Regions from separate parts of the Homo sapiens genome. Here all the other regions are linked to region 1. Evidence: promoter capture Hi-C in human tissues and cell types (Jung and others, 2019). All regions are on one chromosome and are shown on one strand. Each heading gives the region's core, a stretch centred on a gene start or on the middle of the fragment in contact. The rest is flanking DNA. Distances are from core to core; before and after follow the strand shown.

Evidence for each region. Contacts are between HindIII fragments. The study calls those that stand out against the background at their distance.
Region 2: a fragment that was not itself captured here is called in contact with the fragment with the promoter of FAM50B in region 1 in 2 of the 25 tissues and cell types used here (pancreas and spleen).
Region 3: a fragment that was not itself captured here is called in contact with the fragment with the promoter of FAM50B in region 1 in 6 of the 25 tissues and cell types used here (H1 embryonic stem cells, IMR-90 fibroblasts, aorta and 3 more).

The regions. Positions count from the first base shown.
Region 1 is chr6:3,846,844-3,850,956 of GRCh38, forward strand. FAM50B (family with sequence similarity 50 member B) reads left to right here and starts at 2,530. Exons shown (of 2, transcript NM_012135.3): 1 at 2,530-2,643; 2 at 2,946-4,113. The coding sequence starts at 2,969. The coding sequence ends at 3,946. LOC107986557 (a long non-coding RNA gene) reads right to left here and starts at 2,523. Exons shown (of 3, transcript XR_001743931.2): 1 at 2,473-2,523; 2 at 1,546-1,806. RefSeq lists a silencer at 2,204-2,323 and an enhancer at 2,594-2,713. The HindIII fragment of the contact is 6,203 bases long and covers 1-4,113 here.
Region 2 is chr6:3,782,719-3,786,785 of GRCh38, forward strand. No RefSeq gene overlaps it. Among named protein-coding and RNA genes, the nearest start is that of PXDC1, 33 kb to the left of the region's middle. The HindIII fragment of the contact is 7,817 bases long and covers 1-4,067 here.
Region 3 is chr6:3,953,638-3,957,805 of GRCh38, forward strand. No RefSeq gene overlaps it. Among named protein-coding and RNA genes, the nearest start is that of TGILR, 44 kb to the left of the region's middle. The HindIII fragment of the contact is 7,045 bases long and covers 1-4,168 here.

The DNA of each region.
Region 1 (4,113 bases), core at 1,280-3,779:
GATCTATGGGTTGCAGAATGGATGTTGTGTTAGCAAGCATGAAATCAACTTTAATCTCCTTGAGCATCTCCATCAAGCTCTTAGGTGACCAAGTGCATTGTTAATGAGTAATAATATCTTGAAAGGAATAATCAGAGCAGTAAGTCTCAACACTGGGCTTAAAAATATTCAGTAAACCATGCTGTAAACAGATGTGCTGTCCTCCAGGTTTTGTTGTTCCATTTACAGAGCACAGGCACAGTAGATTTAGCATAATTTTTAAGGGCACTAAGATTTTCAGAATGGTAAGTGAGCATTGGCTTCAACTGAAAGTCTCCAGCTACACTAGCCCCTAGCAAGAGAGTCAACCTGTCCTTTGAAGCCATGAAGCCAGGCATTGACTTCTCCTCTCTAGATATAAAAGTCCTAAATGGCATCTTCTTCCAATAGAAGGCTATTTTGTCTACATTGAAAATGTATTGTTTAGGGTAGCCTCCGTCATCAGTGCTCTTAGCTAGATCTTCTGGATAACCTGCTGCAGCTTCTCCATCACACTTGCTGCTTCACCTTGCACTTTATGTTATAGAGGTGACTTCCTTCCTCAGCCTCATGAACCAACCTCTGCTACCTTCAGACTTTTCTTCTGAAGCTTCCTCACCTCTCTCAGCTTCACAGAATTGAAGAGACTTAGGGCCTTGCCCTGGATTAGGCTTTGGTTTAAGGGAATGTCGTGGCTGGTTTGATCTTCTATCCAGACCACTAGAACTTTCTCCATATAAGCAATAAGGCTGTTTTGCTTTCTTATCATTCATATGTTTACCAGGAAAGCGCTTTCAGTTTCATTCAAGATTTTTTTCCTTTGCATTCACAACTTAGCTAACTGTTTGGCAAAAGAGGCCTAGCTTTTGGCCTATCCTGGCTTTTGACATACTTTCCTCACTGAGCTGAATCATTTCTAGCCTTTGATTTAAAGTGAGAGACGTGTGACACTTCTTTTCACTTGAACACTTAGAGGCCATTGTAGGGTTATTAATTGGCCTAATTTCAATATTGCTGTGTCTCAGGCACTAGGGAAGCCTAGGGACAGGAAGAGAGATGAAGGAACAGCCAGTCAGTGGAGCAGTCAGAACATACATAACATTTATCAGTTAAATCAATAAACGTCTTTGTCTTCTACTGCACACTTCGGAGTGCCCCCAAACAATTACAATAACCTCACAGAACGATGATCACAGATCACCATAGCAGATATCACAATGAAAAAGTCTGAAATATTGCAAGAATTACCAAAATGTGACACAGGAACACGAAGTGAGCACATGCTGCTGGAAAAATGGAGCCAGTAGGCGCTTGACGCTGTGTTGCCACAAATCTTCAATTTGTAAAAACAAAAACAAAACACACAGTATCCCAGAGCTCAATAAAATAAGATATTCTTGTATTCTGGTGATGGGGCAACAATGAGAAGGCTTTAGATTAAAAAAAATGCTAATTTCCTAGATTAAGGCAAGTGGTGGGGAATGGGAGAAAAAGGAAAGTGTGAAAGGCTCTTCTGTAATTGATTACCTGTGGAGGAACGTCATTCCAGGAAAAGGCCTAGGTTTCTGGCTTGGACAATTTGATGAGGGCTCACACCGTGCTGTTCTCCTCTGGATATGTGGGTGCCATATGTAATTATCATATGATTCACGCTTCTTGGTAAGGTTATGCTCACAGGCATTGTTGCTCTTAGGCGGGAGGAGGCTGAACCGCAGTATGTATTTCACAACCAGCTTTTCCAAACTAGGTCCCAGGAAGCACTGGTTTCGGCGAGTGTTACCAGATCTCCTGCAGGGGAGAAACGGTCACGAAACATGAACTGGTCTGCCCTGCTCTTGGAGAGTTACAGTGGAAACTGGCATGTTAGAGGCTCACAGTAAAGACACTGCTACACTTTAACTCAGTGTCCCATGGTTATTAGAGCTTAGAACCCGGGGGAAACTGCTGTATAGAAGAGGTCAAACAAGCTGAGTGCAGGTTTTGTCACGAAACTGGGGGGCGAGTAGGGTTCTATTATCAAAGAATGGTTGTGTTGGGGCCATAAGAAAGAATTACAGGCAGTGGTGCGCAGGTAATGTTCACGAGACGCCACAGCGGGGTAGCATCAGAGGCGGGAGGAGGAGGGTTGGAGAGCAGGGCCGTGTTGCAAGGCTCTCTGGGTGGCCACAGCAGCTTGCGCTGCGCCCACATTGCTTCTGCGTGTTTACAGTTGGGCACGAGAAGGCTCAGCACGCACGCACAGCAGGTGGGGGCCCGCCCTGCCCACAGCGTGAAAACAGGAGCCCCGGCCAGCCACGGCTGGGCAGGGCCAGAAGCGCCTCCTCCAGGATCCTCCCCGCGCTGGCCCGCCCCACAGGAGCACCGCCCCTACCAGGAGCCCGGAGCTCTTCCCAGGGCCCGCCTCCCCGCCAGGGGGCGATCCACCTCCACTTCCTGTTTCCGCAGCCGCCCTACCAGGAGCCTGGCACTCTCCTCAGGGCCCGCCTCCCCGCCAGGGGGCGCACCGCCTCCACTTCCTGTGTCCACGGCTGTCGCGAGAGCCCGGGGCGAGTGGGCCTCTGCTCGTGGGTGGTTCTCGTGGAGGTCAGCTCCCGCGTGTCTCCGCTCGACAGGGTGCTTGGGCAGGTAAGGGTCCGCTCAGTAGCCCAACCCTCTCTGTATGCAGCTCCCCAAATTCAGCGCTGCGCTCAGGCATGGCAGCCACCCGTTACGTGGGGCCGTTCGCATTTGCATTTATTGAGGTCAAATAAAATGCTGGAAATTGGTGCCTGGTGACACTGTCAGGTTGGTGGTTACCCTAGCAGGTCGGCCCAGCCCCTGAACGCTTCCATCACTGCCGAAAGCCCTGTGAGGAGGCGCAGAGCTGAGCATTCCCCGCCGTTGCGTGGGCCCCCCTCTACCTGCCGCGTTTTTCCTCTTTGCTGCAGAGCCCATCGGGTAGGCGCGGGCCATGGCGCAGTACAAGGGCACCATGCGCGAGGCAGGCCGTGCCATGCACCTCCTCAAGAAGCGCGAAAGGCAGCGGGAGCAGATGGAGGTGCTGAAGCAGCGCATCGCCGAGGAGACCATCCTCAAGTCGCAGGTGGACAAGAGGTTCTCGGCGCATTACGACGCCGTGGAGGCCGAGCTGAAGTCCAGCACGGTGGGCCTGGTGACCCTGAACGACATGAAGGCCCGGCAGGAGGCCCTGGTCAGGGAGCGCGAGCGGCAGCTGGCCAAGCGCCAGCACCTGGAGGAGCAGCGGCTGCAGCAGGAGCGGCAGCGGGAGCAGGAGCAGCGGCGCGAGCGCAAGCGTAAGATCTCCTGCCTGTCCTTTGCACTAGACGACCTCGATGACCAGGCCGACGCGGCCGAGGCCAGGCGCGCCGGAAACCTGGGCAAGAACCCCGACGTGGACACCAGCTTCCTGCCAGACCGCGACCGCGAGGAGGAGGAGAACCGGCTCCGAGAGGAGCTGCGCCAAGAGTGGGAGGCGCAGCGCGAGAAAGTGAAGGACGAGGAGATGGAGGTCACCTTCAGCTACTGGGACGGCTCGGGCCACCGGCGCACGGTGCGGGTGCGCAAGGGCAACACGGTGCAGCAGTTCCTGAAGAAGGCGCTGCAGGGGCTGCGCAAGGACTTCCTGGAGCTGCGCTCCGCCGGCGTGGAGCAGCTCATGTTCATCAAGGAGGACCTCATCCTGCCGCACTACCACACCTTCTACGACTTCATCATCGCCAGGGCGAGGGGCAAGAGCGGGCCGCTCTTCAGCTTCGATGTGCACGATGACGTGCGCCTGCTCAGCGACGCCACCATGGAGAAGGACGAGTCGCACGCGGGCAAGGTGGTGCTGCGCAGCTGGTACGAGAAGAACAAGCACATCTTCCCCGCCAGCCGCTGGGAGGCCTATGACCCCGAGAAGAAGTGGGACAAGTACACCATCCGCTAACACCCGCCTGCCAGAGCGGAAACCGGGGGTGGGGGGAGACACTCATTTCTAGGCCCCATCACCAGTCACTTGATTTCGTGACCTTGATTTCTTCCCCCAAATTTAATAAAGACAGAGGGTTCTCATGATTCACATTGGTTGTGCTATTGCTGATGTTATGCTTTGGT
Region 2 (4,067 bases), core at 1,149-3,648, 64 kb before region 1:
GCACACCACTACCAAGGTGTGTTGCCGTCCTCAGTTCACGGTGCCACAGCCAGAGTCTGCACAAGTGGCATCCTGTTTCCTAATGCATCTTTAGCTCTCACGGATGCCTCGCCTTTGGTGGTCCCCCAAACAGATCCACGGCAGCATGTGCTGTGATGACTGCCCACCCCCACCCTCCTCCCAGGAAATTTCTAAAGAACTCCATCTGGCGTCCAGCAGCTTCGTGTTTGTTCTTTTTATAAATATGTTCTGTGATGAAATTCAGGGTTAAGCTTTCTGATCACATGATCTGTCCTGACTTCACAGTCATCCATTCTATCTGGATCAATGACATCTAAGTATTTCCATGGTCTCCAGGAGCTAAATCACAGCACCTGGCTTCTTGCTCTGCACGTGGCTGGGCCTGGCTCCCAGGACTCTCTGTCCTCCATGGACTGGTTGTGAAAGCCACACAAGAACCGGCTCAGGAGACCACGAGTGGGCAGGGGGCCCCTCCCTGGGGCTGGGTGCAGGCCAGCACCCTGGCAAGGTAGAAACAAATGGGCATCTCGACAGCCAAGCCAGGGCTGCTGAGTGTTTTATCCATCTTTCTGAGAGGCAGTGTTTTCATCATTGAGTCACCACTGGGTATGTTCAGGTGACCATCTCTATTTAGTCTCACTTCTGACCACATATGACAATCCTGGAAGCTTTCCAGAATCCCCGTGCCTGGACTCTACCCAGTACCAAATCAGAATCTCAGGGCATCAGTATGTTTTTAAACCTCCCCAGGAGATACCAAGGAGCGGCTGGGCTTGAGCATCTGCTCTCCGCCGGGACTTCTCACACTGTAATGTGCACACCAATCACCAGGGATCTTCTTCAAACGCACATCTTGACTCAGTAGGTCTGGGGAGGGGCGTGATTTCCGCGTTTCTGACTCGCTCTCAGGAGAGGCTGGTGCTGCTGATCCAGGTGCCACCCTTGGAGGGCAAGGGCACAAGTGTATCACAGTGTGGCAAACCATGGAAGGTTGGCCAGTTTTTAAAATTTCAATAGCCTTTGGGGTGCAACTGGTTTTCGGTTAGGTGGATGAATTGTCGGGCCAGTCTTTGTAAAAAGAGTTTTTGTTTTTGTTTGTTTTGTTTTTTTGTTTTGAACCTCCCGGGTTCAAGCGATTCTCCTGCCTCAGCCTCCGGAATAGCTGGGATTACAGGCATGTGCCACCATGCCTGGATAATTTTAAAGATATTTTTAGTAGAGATGGGGTTTCACCATGTTGGTCAGGCTGGTCTCGAACTCCTGACCTCAGGTGATCCGCCTGCCTCTGCCTCACAAAGTGCTGGGATTACAGGCATAAGCCACTGTGCCCGGCTGTAAAAAGAGTTTATTGGCTGGACACAGTGGCTCATGCCTGTAATCCCAGCACTTTGGGAGGCCAAGGCAGGCAGATCACAAGGTTCAGGAGATCAAGGCCATCCTGGCAAACACGGTGAAACTCCATTTCTACTAAAAATACAAAAATTTGGCCGGGCATGGTGGCACATGCCTGTAATCCCAGCTACTCGGGGGTCTGAGGCAGGAGAATTGCTTGAACCTGGAAGGCGGAGGTTGTAGTGAGCCGAGATCACACCACTGCACTCCAGCCTGGGTGACAGAGCAAGACTCTGCCTCAAAAAAAAAAAAAAAAAAAAGAGAGTTTTATTGAGACACAGCCATACCACACTCACACTATGAGGCAGGGATGCAACAGAGACTGTATGGCCTGAAAGCCTAAAATATTCACTCTCTGGCACTTTACAGAAAAAGTTTGCTGATTTAGAACTTGTTAGTATAGGTGCATCTGTCACAAGCTCAGCGGCCGGCATGGGCAGCCCAGGTAGGTAGGCCTCCCTATCACAGGTGGATGTGAGTCAGAGGGTCACGTTCCGTCATACAGAGCGGTGCCCAGTGTTTTCCCGTGACAGTGGCACTGTTCGTTCACCACAGTCACCCTGTAACCGGCAGCGGTGCTGTTGACTTCGTCATGCCAAGGGATATCCAGTTCCGAGCACCTTCTGTTGCGTGTCTAAGACACTGTGGGAGCCTTTGGGAGGCAGGATGGTTTAAAATGGGGCACAGTTCCATATCACTTAGACAGAAGGATCAGGGTGGATTGTGACCTCCCAGTGATTGTCAGCCCTTCTGTCCTCCTTTCAAAGCTTTCAGACTTGGGGATACAGTTTGGCTCTGTGTCCTCACCCAAATCTCACCTCAAATTATAATCCCCATAATCCTCAAGGGTCAAGGGCGGGGCCAGGTGGAGGTGATTGAATCATGGGGGCGGTTTCCCCCATGTTGTTCTCGTGATGGTGAGTGAGCTCTCACGAGATCTGACGGGCTCGGAAGCGTCTGGCCTTTCCCCGCTTGCACTCACTCTGTCCTGCCGCCCGGTGAAGAAGGTACGTGCTTCTCCTTTGCCTTCTGCCATGACTGTCGGTTTCCTGAGGTCTCTCCAGCAATGCAGAACTGTGAGTCAACTAAACCTCTTTTCTTTATAAATTATCTGGTCTCGGTATTTCGTCACGGCAGTGTGAGAATGGACTAATACACTTGGGTTACAATTTTGGCAGACAAAATTGTGTTTTCTGTGTTTAGAATTACCAAAAAAAAGTAGGGAGATGGGGATGGTTTACATATAATCTACTCCTCTTAAAAGTTATTGGAGTGCAGTGGTGCAACCTCGGCTCACTGCAACATTCGTCTCCTGGGTTCAAGCAATCCTCCTGCTTCAGCCTCCCAAGTTGCTGGGATTACAGGCGCTCGCCACCACGCCCTACTAATTTTTGCATTTTTAGTAGAGAGAGGGTTTCATCGTGTTGGCCAGACTGGTCTGGAACTCATGACCTCAGGTGATCCACCCGCCTCGGCCTCCCAAAGTGCTGAGATTACAGGCGTGAGCCACTGTGCCCGGCCCTGGCCGACTGTCTTAAATTGTGCAATCTAGTGTCCATAAAACTCTAATTATTTTGCTGTCATTTAAATTTTTTTACTATTTAAAAATTTCACGTGTAATTACAGATGGTACGTTTGTTGAGAAAACATATGTACCACAGTATTTGTAGTCAGAATTCAGAAATAAGCACTGTAATGTTTTAGTGTGTATCACATTTCACGTCATTTCTATGCAGAAATAGACCACATGCCACAGAGTGAACTTTGTCTCTAGCCTCAGCTTTCTCATCTCTAAAGTGGGGAGATCCTCTCCTGCTTCACGGAGTTGTTGTTAGGATGGAATGAGCTCGTATCAGTAAAGTGCTGACAGCACTGTATACTAAGTTTTGGAAATGGAATTTAACTGTTTTATAACCTGCTTACCAGGGTTTGGGGCCAGACATAAAATTCATGCACCCCACTTTTGTCACATTCCACTGGAGAGAGCTGAACCTCAAACTCACACCAGACTCCAAGAGACACAGAAAACATAGTGTCCTGAGCAGGCTGACCCAGCGTAAGGCCAGGACTGCAGAGAAAGGGAAGCAGGTTTTGGTGGAGAGCTGATCTCTGCCCCAGGGTATTTTACCATTTTTCTATGTAAGTGTTAATATTTTGCTTTTCGATATATGTGTGTTCTTTATAAATGAGGGACAGCAACCTTATGACTCATGTATATTGCAAAATTTTTCTTTGGTGTCACTTTTCACTTGCAAAAATTTTCTTTGGTGTCATTTTTCACTTTTAATTTTGTTCATGGAATTTCCTATTTTTATTTGTTGTTGTTGTTTTAGACAGAGTCTCTCTCTGTCACTCAGGCTGGAGTGCAGTGGTGTGATCTCGGCTCACTGCAACCTCGCCTCCCAGGTTCAAGTGATTCTCCTGCCTCAGCCTTCTCAGTAGTTGGGATGAGAGGCGTATGCCACCACACCCAGCTAATTTTTGTATTTTTAGTAGAGATGGGGTTTTACCATGTTGGCCAGGCTGGTCTTGAACTCCTGATCTCAAGTGATCCACCTGCCTTAGCCTCCCAAAGTGCTGAGATTACAGGCGTGAGCCACCGTACCCAACTGGAATTTCCTATTTTTTGAAAAAACTTTTTGTAATATATTCAC
Region 3 (4,168 bases), core at 943-3,442, 110 kb after region 1:
AATGCTAGTGACTTTAGTACATGGATTTTGTATTCTGAGACTTTGTTGAAGTTGTTTATCAGCTTAAGGAGTTTTTGGGCTGAGACTATAGGGTTTTCTAGATATAGAATCATGTCATCTGCAAACAGGGACAGTTTGACTTCTCTTCCGATTTGGATGCCCTTTCTTTCTTTCTCTTGCCTGGTTGCTCTGGCTTGTTCTTCCAATACAATGTTGAATAGGAGTGGTGAGAGCGGGCATCCTTCTCTTATGCCAGTTCTCGAGGGGAATGATTCCAGCTTTTCCCCATTCAGTATGATGTTGTCTGTAGGTTTATCATGGATGGCTCTTATTATTTTGAGATATGTTCCTTCAATACCTCGTTTATTGAGTTTTTGACATGAAAGGGTATTGAATTTTATCAAAAGCCTTTTCTGCATATATTGAGATAATCATGTGGTTTTTGTCTTTAGTTCTGTTTATGAGATAAGTCACATTTATTGATTTGAGTATGTTAAATCAACCTTTTACCCCAGGGATAAACCCTACTTGATCGTGATGAATAAGCTTCTTGATGTGCTGTTGGATTTGGTTTGCCTGCATTTTGTTGAGGATTTTTGCATGGATGTTCATCAAGAATACTGGCCTTAAGCTTTATTTTTTTGTGGTGTCTCTGCCAGGTTTTGGTGTCAGAATAATGCTAGCCTCATAGAAAAAGTGAGGGAGGAGTCTCTCCTCAATTTTTTTGAATAGTTTCAGTAGGAATGATACCGCTTCTTCTTATACATCTGGTAGTATCTGGCTGTGAATCTATCTTGGACTGGCCTTTTTGTAGTCAGTAGGCTATTTATTACTGATTTAATTTCAGAGTCTGTTCAGGGATTCAATTTCTTCCTGCTTTCGTCTTGGGAGGGTATATGTGTCCAGGAATTTATCCATTTATTCTAGATTTTCTAGTTTGTATGCATAGAGGTGATAAACAGGAATTCTTAATTTGAATGTAGTCCAATTCGCCAATCTCTTTCTTTATAAGTACTGTTTTTTTTTGGTGATCTGTTTAAGAAATCTTCCTCTAACTTGATATTATAAAAATAATGTATCTTCTCTTATGTGCTATTTGTTAAACATTCATATTCTTTTTTTTTTTTTTTTTTTTTTTTTTTTTTTTGAGATGGAGTCTCTGTCTCCCAGGCTGGAGTGCAGTGGTGCAATCTTGGCTGACTGCAATCTCCACTTCCATGGTTCAAGCAATTCTTGTACCTCAGCCTTCTGAGTAACTGAGGCCACAGATACGCCACCACACTCCCCTAATTTTTGTATTTTTAGTAGAGAAAGAGTTTTGCCATGTTGGACAGGCTGGTCTCAAACTACTGGACTCAAGCAATCTGCCTGCTTCTGCCTCCCAAAGTTTTGGGATTACAGGCATGAGCCACTGTGGCCCACCTAAACATTTATTTTTAAAGTTACTTTCTGAAATTGATTGTTGTAGATGGTATATGTTCCAAGGTTTTCTTTTTTTTATATAGTTGTTCAAATGACTTTGCACCATTACTTTTTTAAATGTATTTTTTTCACTAGTCTACCATACTTTCTTTTTTCTTTTTCTTTTTTTTTTTTTTTTTTTTTTTTAGCCAGAATGTTGCTCTTATTGCCCAGGCTGGAGTGCAATGGCACGATCTTGGCTAACTGCAACCTCCACCTCCTGGGTTCAAGTGATTCTCCTGCCTCAGCCTCCCGAGTAGCTGGGATTACAGGTGCGTGCCACCACGCCTGGCTAATTTTTTGTATTTTTAGTAGAGACGGGGTTTCACCATGTTGGCCATGCTAGTCTCGAACTCCTGACCTCCGATGATCCACCCGCTTTGGCCTCCCAAAGTGCTGGGCTTACAGGCATGAGCCACCGTGCCCGGCTTACAATACTTTTTTTTTTTTTTTTTGAGACAGAGTATCACTCTGTCGCCTAGGCTGGGGTGCAGTGGCGCGATCTCGACTCACTGCAATATCTGCTTCCCGGGTTCAAGCAATTTTCCTGCCTCAGCCTTTTGAGAAGCTGGGATTGCAGGCGCCCACCACCATGCCCGTCTAATTTTTGTGTCTTTTAGTAGGGATGAGTTTTCACCATGTTGGCCAGGCTGGTCTTGAACTCCTGACCTCACGTGATCAGCCCACCTCAGCCTCTCAAAGTGCTGGGATTACAGGCATGAGCCACCGGCCAATACTTTCTTTGTCATAGATCACATACCTACATATGTGTGGCTCTGTTTTTGGACTTTGATTTTTCCATTGCTCTCTTTTCTATTCTTGTTTCAATGTTACTGTGTTAATTCTTGTGGCTTTATATTAAGTCTTAGTTTCTCTCGAGTGCTTTATTTTTTAGTTCTTTAAGGATGTCTTGGCTTTTCTTGGCCTTTTGCGTCTTGCATAAATTTTAGAATCAGGTTGCTAATTTGCTGAGAGTAGCAAGAAGGAGTGCCCCATTCATGGCCTTGTACTTTGAGGATTTTAATGGGTTGCAAGGAACTCATTTTGTGAGCAGCGATGAATCTGCTTCAGATAAAGTAAATCAGAGCTGGAGGTAGGGCAGGGTTCTTCATGCTAGCCTGGGGCTGCATAACTCAATGAACACTGGCTGAGGCAACAATGGGTCTTTTGTGATGAAACTGGTACCTACTCAGGCTATGGGGCCTGAGGTTTCATCATACATCATTGGGTTTATTAAAGCTTAAAAGTGATCTAATAATTAACATGCCAGCTACTAGTTATTTGTTGAGTTTTTTTCCTTTTTAGTCAGGGAAAATGAGAGTGAGGGAAAAGGAAAAGGAAGCAACCCTAAGGGGCAACAAGACCATTAATTATTACAAATATCAATAGGACACAAATGACCCTTTGTCTCTCAGGCTGGAGTGCGGTGGCGCGATCACAGCTCACTGCAGCCTCGACTTCCCAGTCTCAAATGATCCTCCTACCTCAGCCTCCTGAGTAGCTGGGACCACAGGTGCACATCATTATGCCCTACCAATTTTTAAATTTGTTATAGAGATGAGGTCTCCCTATGTTTGCCAGGCTGGTCTTGAACTCCTGGCCTCAAGTGATCTCCTGCCTTGGCCTCCCAAAGTGCTGAGATTACAGGCATGAGCCACTACACCTGACCCAAATGGGTAATTTAGTTGCATAAGGTCTTTCCTTCATAATCTAATTAGAAAACTTTGGGGCAGGACTCCAAGGCTTACTTTTGACCCTCATTCCACTCCTGCCCTACTCTTCATTGTTCTAAAAAATGGAAAAACAGGTTGATTACATATACTATTTAAGTTCCATGAAAGCAAGAAATGTGTCTATCTGGTTCACTGATGTATCTCCAGGGCTTAGAACAGTGCCCGGTGCATAGTTGATTCTCAATAAATATCAATGGAATAAATAAAATGTTCCACATTGCCTTGCTTCAAACTTCTAAAAAAATTAATAATAGCTTCTAACTAACCGCGACTTCTGGTAAACTTCATACCAGTTGCCCTTGTGTTACGTATTTGTTTTTAAAACAGCAATTCATTTATCTAGGTTTATGAAAAAATGAAAATAAACACTATGTTGTGGGGGCCCACTTGTTCAGTGTCCAGTGATATCAAACAACCTTAAATTCTAACCATAAATTATTTTGATAATATGTGTAAACATTCTGTTAGCCAAATGTGTCTATTAATCCAGGCTTTGCAGGCTTAACCCAAACAATTTGAGCAGGTGAAAGAAACAAGCCAACTAGACAGACTTCTCAATACTGAGGCAAGGACATGCTTCAGAGACGTAGATCACAGGGTTGAAGGGCACCCTCCTAGGAAACACCTCCCACCCCACCTTTTCAGGCATCAGTTTCTGCCTCTGTTGATTCAGAGAAGAGTTCCCAGTGGTGTGACTCAGACAGGCCCTCTGAGAAAGTAGACTGTGCCTTCTCACTGTCCAGGCTCCAGGAGGAGGTGCTGGGCCCAAGGGCAGCCCATTTAGAGCTGAGACCCTATCTCAGAAGAGGAACTGATGTGAGATCTCAACTCAGCAAGAAGGAGGGTGACTATCTGAAGCAATGGGATGCTTTCTTTGTGGGAATTTGAATTTGAGATAAAGGGGATGAGAGTTTGCCACTCCATAAGATGCCGCTTTGGCATAAACATTGCTTTGCCGAAGGAAATCAAGAAAC